Linked DNA regions of Homo sapiens: region 2 is linked to region 1. Evidence: promoter capture Hi-C in human tissues and cell types (Jung and others, 2019). All regions are on one chromosome and are shown on one strand. The core of a region is centred on a gene start or on the middle of the fragment in contact, and the rest is flanking DNA. Distances in the headings are between cores, read along the strand shown.

Region 1 (3,897 bases), core at 454-2,953:
AAGCATAGAGCATATTATAGATTTGGTGCAAAAGCAATTGTGGTTTTTGCCACTGAAAGCCAAAAGCCGCAATTACTTTTGCACCAACTTATAATACTGTTAGGTAACATTTAGATGAAAATAAGTTAACATTTACTTGGCACTTACTAGGGATCAGGACCTGTTCTAGGTACTTTACATGTATCAATTTTTAAAGTCTTCACAATCATGTGATAAATAGGTAGGTTCCATTACTCCCATTTTACACATAAGAAAACCAAGGAAAGAGGGGTTAATTAATTAGTCCAATCGCACAGTGACGAACTGGGATTTGAATCAGGCAATCTGGCTCCAGAGTAGACACTTGACACGATACATATCTTCTCCTAGTAACTAAGGATCTCTGATTTGAAACAAAACATTTAGAAACCAAGTATTATGTAGGGCTATTGCCACTACAACATACTACCTAATATAGATTCATAACAAGGGTTAGACCTCATTTTCCTATGGGTAAGTCAACTGATACATCACAGGGCAGGTCTATACAGCCACAGATCCCTGCCGTGTGCAAGGCAAAAAATTTCTACTATAGCCAGGTGTGTGGTTAAGAAAGTACGAGAACATACCTATATTCTCCCTCCCTCATGTTGCTGTCATAAGTTGTTTCTCATAACATCTTTCTAGAAACATTCTCAAGAAGTGCTAATTTATAGGAATTAGTTTAAGGCGCAGGCATTTATGAAATATAAGATATCTCGGCTCACATCCCCATAGCAGAACCTGCAAATGATCTTATTTATGCTAACTCTTTGACCCTGCCCAAGAGCTGATTCCGGAATTTCTATTGTAGTTTCGTTTTTACCTTTCATGAAGATTGTGTACAGGACATAGAAGCGGGGGAAATGACGACCCAAGAAACGATGGTATTTCCCATTAATCGCTTTTGTCTTGGTTACCACATAAGACATCAAGTTCTTCACATCTGCCTTTGGAGAAAGGTGAAGCTTTGAAGACCTACAAGGAAGATCAAAGAGACTATCTGGGAATCAGTCCTAGAAGCTCCCTCACGCCTTGAGTCCCTAATGTAAAGCAGGAGTCTCGGAGATTGTATCCCAAGGCTTGACACTTCTGAAATCCAAGGAAGGTCTTGGGGTCAAGAAGAGATAGGCAATCAGACTGTGAAACACAAATCAGGCAAAGGCCAGGCAGGAAAGTAACTCAGGGTATGCCTCTGGAGAGAGCGCAATGCCTGTGGGACAATTTGAACTGCAGGCTAAGTCAGAAAGAGGTGGAATCGAGATAGCAGCGGTAAAACCTGAGCCGAAAAAGTGAGGCTGAAAGATGAGCTCAGGACACGCGGGGAAACCAGACAATATGGGGCACTGAGAGTACAGAGGGTCAGGAAGCCGGGTCACTAGTGGGGATCGGAGTTTGAATCCTGAACAGAAGAATAAAAATTCCAGGGCCAAGGCGTGGAACTCTGAGAATTAAGAGACAGAATGCAAGCAAGGTTGAGACACTGAAAGAGCCTGGACGTCAAAAATGCTTTTCTCGCTACAGGTCCCTCACCGAGGGGCCCCCCAAGCCAGGCCAGAGCGACCAAGTTGCAGCCTCCGGGTGACAAAATGTCCAGGGGTGACTGCCGAGCCCCACACAGCCGACCGAGCCCAGCACACCCTGGAGAGCGCCATCTTCACAGCGAGAGAAGCGGGAGAGAAGAGGTTGTCTTTGGGTCAAAGTTAACCGTACGTCGCGTTCGTTCGAAGACGCATGCGTCTTTTCTGAGCGCTGATTGGTAGCCATAGCCTGCTTGGCTCCAGCACAAGCCAGGAGAGGGAAGGACTCAAAGACTAAGTGCGGAAGGAGGGCCAGGATTGGACACAGCAGTACTTCCAGGTTTAAAGGCGCCGGAAACAGGGTGTCCCAGAGGGAGCGAGTTCTTATGCCACTGGTGTGGGTTTGCGACGCGGAGGGCACCCTGTCCTTGAGGCGCCCAGTGACCCTCCGCGATTCCTTAGGGCCTCAGGGCTTCCCAGCGCCGCCCTTGCCCTCTGCCTGGACTCGGGGCGTCGGAGCCTCGACTGTTAGGTAGCAGATGTCAGTTTGCCAGTGCCTGGGGCTAGGAGGACCCGCGGCGCCCTCTAATGGTGCCGGCGTGGATAGGCCGGGAACTGTCCACTTTCCAGTCAGTCTGGCGGCGAAGGTTGGAGGCCTGGGAGCGGCCCCTGTGCGGACTGAGTACACTTTTTCCTCTCTTTGTCGTTTCCAGAACTAAGTTTGTGGGAAAATGGTTTTCGTTAAGCACCTACCGAAGACCAAGCTCTGTCTCAACTTAAATGTTACTATTCTGAGAGGATTTCTGTGACCACCCTATCTGAAGCAGTGCCGGCGAAAAGGACACACTTCACACTTATTCTCATGTTACTCTGTTTTGTTTTGTTTTGTTGTTTTGTTTTTGTGACAGTTTTGCTCTGTCGCCCCGGCTGGAGTGCAGTGGCGCGATCTTGGCTCACTGCAGCCTCCGCCTCCCGGGTTCAAGCGATTCTCCTGCCTCAGCCTCCCGAGTATCTGGGATTACAGGCGTCCGCCACCACGCCCGGCTAATTTTTGTATTTTTAGTAGAGACGGGATCTCACTATGTTGGTCAGGCTGGTCTTCAACTCCTGGCCTCAAGTGATCCGCCAGCCTTGGCCTCCCAAAGTGCTGGGATTACAGGCGTGAGCCACTGCACCCGGCCTTGTATTTTCTTTGTAGCATCTGTCACTTACAGTGTTTATGTATTTGTGTCCTTGTTTGACAGCTCCCTGAACTAGAATGAGGGTAAGCATCTTCTCTGCCTTGTTCATTGCTGCACCTCCAACACTAGGTGCCTTACTTAGCACATAGTAGGTGTTCAGTAAACATGTTTGAATAGATTCATACTTGAAACTAAGAAGGATTCCCAGAAGTGGTACTTAACTGCCTCCAAGAATTAACAGTCCTCTTGGATATATATGAATATTTATTCTTCATGGAAGGTGGTAGAGCATCCCATGTGGGTTCCCTGGATATAGGTTCAATCTTGGCATTGACGTTTGTTTTAGTGAATGTTACCTTGGATATGTCACTTTAGCTCTGAGTTTATTTCCCTTATAATAGTACCTACTTTATAAGAAATCTTTGAGGATCCAAAGAGAATACAGCTGTGAAAGCTCCCACATCTGTATAATGCTTTATGGGTCACAGAGCTTTATATTAGCACAGGTTATTAATGACTGTACCACTCGTGCAGTCAGAGGAAAAGTTTTAAAAGATGGCCCTGGATCTTCACAAGTGTTGGGTAGATGGGGTGGACGGGATAGAAAGTTGACTAAGACGGCTGGGCGCCGTGGCTCATGCCTGTAATCCCAGCACTTTGGGAGGCCGAAGCGGGCTGATTACCCGAGGTCAGGAGTTCGAGACCAGCCTGGACAACATGGTGAAACCTCATCTCTACTAAGAATACAAAAATTAGCCGGATGTGGTGGTGGGCGCCTGTAATCCCAGCTACTCGGGAGGCTGAGGCAGGAGAATCGCTTTAACCCAGGAGGCGGAGGTTGAGGTGAGCCAAGATCGCACCACTGCACTCCAGCCTGGGCAACAGAGTGAGACTGTCTCAAAAAAAAAAAAAAAAAAAAAAAAGTTGACTAAGACATGGTCTTCATATTCAGGTAGTTTTTTTTTTTGTTTTTTTTTTTTTTGGAGACAGAGTCTCACTCTGTCACCCAGGCTGGAGTGCAGTGGCGCAATTTCAGCTCACTGCAACCTTCATCTCCCGGATTCAAGTGATTCTCCTGCCTCAGCCTCCCAAGTAGCTGGGTTTACAGGCGCCCGCCACCATGCCCAGACAACTTTTGTATTCTTTTTTTTTTTTTTTGACACGGAGTCTCGCTCTGT
Region 2 (3,678 bases), core at 970-3,469, 340 kb before region 1:
TCAAAGGGTGGAGTCGGGGAGGCTCAGGGAGGACAGGCCTGGTCCCCAAATTCCCTACTCAACCTCCACGGGTATGAGTGTGGTAAACAGAGTAGTGGTCTAGGAGTTGAGAGATCGGGTTCTACTCCTGGGAGCCACTAGCTGTGTGTTGCTAGAGAAGTCACCTAACCATTCTGGCCTCGCCGTTGATAAAATGAGGGTGTTAGACCCACAGACAGACCTAGTCAAAACAGCAAGCTAATGTGTAATGGCAGAATATCCTGTAAGTCAAGTATTTCTTGCAGTAAGTTCATTCAGAACATCATTTAGTGAAGCCAGTGCTCCACATTTAACCCTTCCAACCTCATCTCATTTAACAAGAGTTTGTGGAACTAGCCAGGCCTGATGGCACGCACCTCTGTATTCCCAGCTACTCAGGAGGCTGAGATAGGAGGATTGTTTGAGCCTGGGAGGTCGAGGCTGCAGAAAGCTGTGTTCATGCCACTACACTTCAGCCTGGGTGACAGAGTGAGACCCTGTCTCCAAGAGAAAAAAAAAAAGTTTATGGAACACCTGCTATATGTAAAACTTGTGCTAGACTTTGTAGGTGATAAAAAGCTGGAAATGGCATGGCCTCTCTGGTCCAGGAGTCCATAAACACAGGGTGGGCTGTGATGAGACTGGAGTACAAATAAAAATCGGGTGCTAAGGGGGCAAAGCAGGGAAGAGATGAATTCTGCTGGGAGATCTGAGAAGGCTTTTTGGAGGGGGGCTAGAATATAAACTGTGGGGTTTGGACTGTGTCACTGGCTTTCAAACTTCTATGACTTGACCAAAGTGAGAAATATACTTTATAGCGAGACCCGGTACCTGTGTATATGTGACAGGGCATCCCAAAAATCTTAGGGCAGTTTTATAATTTAATCACATTACAAGCATAAATTCTGCAAACCATAAAAACTATCATTTGAAAATGGAATCATTTAAACTTCTTTTGTCTTTAGTTGTATGAATTTTGAATAACAAATTTATCATTTTAATTTTGTATCAGGCAGTGTGTATCTTTAATAGACTGAAACAAACATTAAAATAAAAGTTTACTTTTCAGGCTGGACATGATGGCTCACACCTGTAATCCCAGCACTTTGGGAGGTCAAGGCAGGAGGATTGCTTCGGCCTAGGAGTTGAAGACCAGCCTGGGCAGCATAGTGAGACCCCCATCTCTACCAAAAAATAAAAATTAGCCGGTCTTGATGACACACACCTATGGTCCCAGCTACTCCAGAGGCTGAGGTAGGAGGATCCTTTGAGCCCAGGAGGTCAAGGCTGCAGTGAGCTGAGATTGCACCACTGCACTCCAGCTTAAGGAACAGAATGAGACCCTGTCTCCAAAAAAAAAGAAAGAAAGAAAAAACGAATACTTGCCTGTGTTACATGTGATACATGATGCACTTTGATATTTTCTTTTCATTCTATTCTGGGTTTTTAAAATTTATTTATTTTTATTTTTTGAGACAGGGTCTCGCTCTATTGCCTAGGTTGTAGTGCAGTGGCATGATCATAACTAACTACAGCCTCAACCTCCTGGGCTCAAGCAATCCTCCAGCATCAGCCTCTCAAGTAGCTGAGATTACAGGCCTATGCCACCACACCCAGCTAACTGGTCTCTTTTTGCTAATTGGTCTTTTTTTTTTTTTTTTTTTTGAGACAGAGTCTTGCTCTGTCACCCAGGCTGGAGTACGGTGGTGCTATTTCTGCTTACTGCAACCTCCAGCTCCTAGGTTCAATCAACTCTCCTGCCTCTGTCTCCTGAGTAGTTGGGATTACAGGCACATGCCACCATGCCTGGCTAATTTTTGTATTTTTAGTAGAGAAGGGGTTTCACCATGTTGGCCAGGTTGGTCTTGAACTCCTGGCCTAAAGTGATCTGCCCACCATGGCCTCCCAAAGTGCTGGGATTTCAGGTGTGAGCCACTGTGCCTGGTCCTAACTGGTCTTTTAAAGAAATTTTTGAATGCTAATTTGCAACACTCTGAATTTATTTTATAATATCACAGTGGATTGTAATCAGCAGTTTGATACAAGCTGGGCTGGGTAAAGCCTCAGTTCCTTACACCAGTGAGAGAAGGTAAGTTTGTGTTCTGGCCGGTGGGGCCAGGGAAGCAAATCCCATTTGTTCAATCTAGGCAGGCTTTTCAGAGAGGATTTCTGGCATCATCTCGGGATCAAAGCCAAGGATGGTCCAAAGAGTTGCAGGCCCAAGGGTAGCTGGAGGAAAAAGACTTGGGAAGAAGTGCTGAGCCACAGCGAGAGGGAAATGAGTGGATGGGGGCTGCGGGCACACTTGCCAGGAAAGCAGGAGGCCAGGTGTGGGAGCCCAAAGGTGAGGGAGATATACAAGACACCAGGGGCGGATCTCGTGAAGCTTTGTACTTGAAACAATAGCAAAGAATAGCAGCTATTCTTTCTCCAAGGCTGGTGGAGGGGCGACCTCCACGACCTTGCTAACCATACTTCTGGGAATCATCTCCTACACAGGGAGCAGAAATCCTTAACCCCAAAGTCCTGTGGCTTGCACTAGATTCTGTGTCTCTTCTAAGGGACTCTTCCTGTTGCCCTCATGCTAAGCAAACAAACTAGAGAATGAGTGCCTCACCACCAAGGCTAATCCCAGGTGTCTCATTTCGGTTCAGGATGTGGTTAGTACCTTGAGGAACTGTAGGTTTGAGAGAGAAAGCTTCAGGCAGCCAGATGGGATTGAGAGATTAGATGCCTAGGAAGAGCTCAATTTAACCCTATATTTCTTTCTCCAGGGAAAATAAAAGAAGCAAAAACAGGCCCTGCTGTGAGGGACCACGAGGCAGTGCCAGGATGAAAGAGTTGGAGTAACCTAGGTGATTCTGAGTGAATCAGTCAGGAGGCCTTCCTGGAGGGGGTGAGTCTTGAGCACTGGCAACAGTTAGTAACTACAATCTTACCATGCCTTTGTTTCTAACTGTGCTCCCTCTTTCTTGCTGGAGTGGGAAGGTAGATGGAAAGTAGCAGGGAAGACGAAGCCTGCAGGACGGTTCAAAGCTGTCATGGCAAACACTCCCCCATTCTGCAGGCCTCTGTGTGGGCTTAGCCGGGACAGTTCCAGAACTGATGAGGTGTCTAGCTCAAGCAAATCCCCCTGTGCTAGCCCCAGCATAGCTCAACCTCTGTGACAAGAAACTCCTGCTACACTGAATCCCCATTTCCTCCCCGAAGCCTTCCTCAAACCCACAGGGAACTCTACCTCTCTCAGCTTAGCTCTTACTGTCTGTGCTATTCTGCTTTAATTTTATTCATTTTTGAATAAGTAATATAGTCAGGGTTCAAAGTACAAAAGAGTATTCAGTGAAAGGTCCTTTTCCTGCTCCTGAATCTCCCCTGGTCAGGTGCTTCCTTCACCTGGTCAGTGCTATCAGTTCTCGTTCTCCAATAAGATTTTCAAATCCCTTGGGGAAAGGAATTGAGCCTTTGTGTCCCTCTGTGTACCAGACGGGGTAAACTGTCCCACCCCATCACCCAAGGGGGTCTTCCTAGGCACCATACCCTCCCTCTTCCATCCACACTGCTACTAACTCTCCTGGGTCAGACTCCGAATGGGTCATCCAGCTGCCAAGCAGGTCCCTTTCCAAGATACCCTCCACCGCTGTCATATTGCTCTTCCTGTAA

Evidence for each region. The method cuts DNA at HindIII sites, captures the fragments that hold promoters and counts their contacts. A contact is called where the count stands out against the background at its distance.
Region 2: a fragment that was not itself captured here is called in contact with the fragment with the promoter of LETMD1 in region 1 in 1 of the 25 tissues and cell types used here (spleen).

Annotation. Positions count from the first base shown.
Region 1 is chr12:51,046,133-51,050,029 of GRCh38, reverse strand. LETMD1 (LETM1 domain containing 1) reads right to left here and starts at 1,703. Exons shown (of 9, transcript NM_015416.5): 1 at 1,552-1,703; 2 at 845-996. The coding sequence starts at 1,673. RefSeq lists enhancers at 920-1,458, 1,659-1,708, 1,459-1,997, 1,819-2,088, 2,179-2,258 and 1 more. The HindIII fragment of the contact is 9,846 bases long and covers 1-3,897 here.
Region 2 is chr12:51,382,697-51,386,374 of GRCh38, reverse strand. All of the region lies in intron 2 of GALNT6 (polypeptide N-acetylgalactosaminyltransferase 6), which reads left to right. Among named protein-coding and RNA genes, the nearest start is that of GALNT6, 6.9 kb to the left of the region's middle. The HindIII fragment of the contact is 3,077 bases long and covers 681-3,678 here.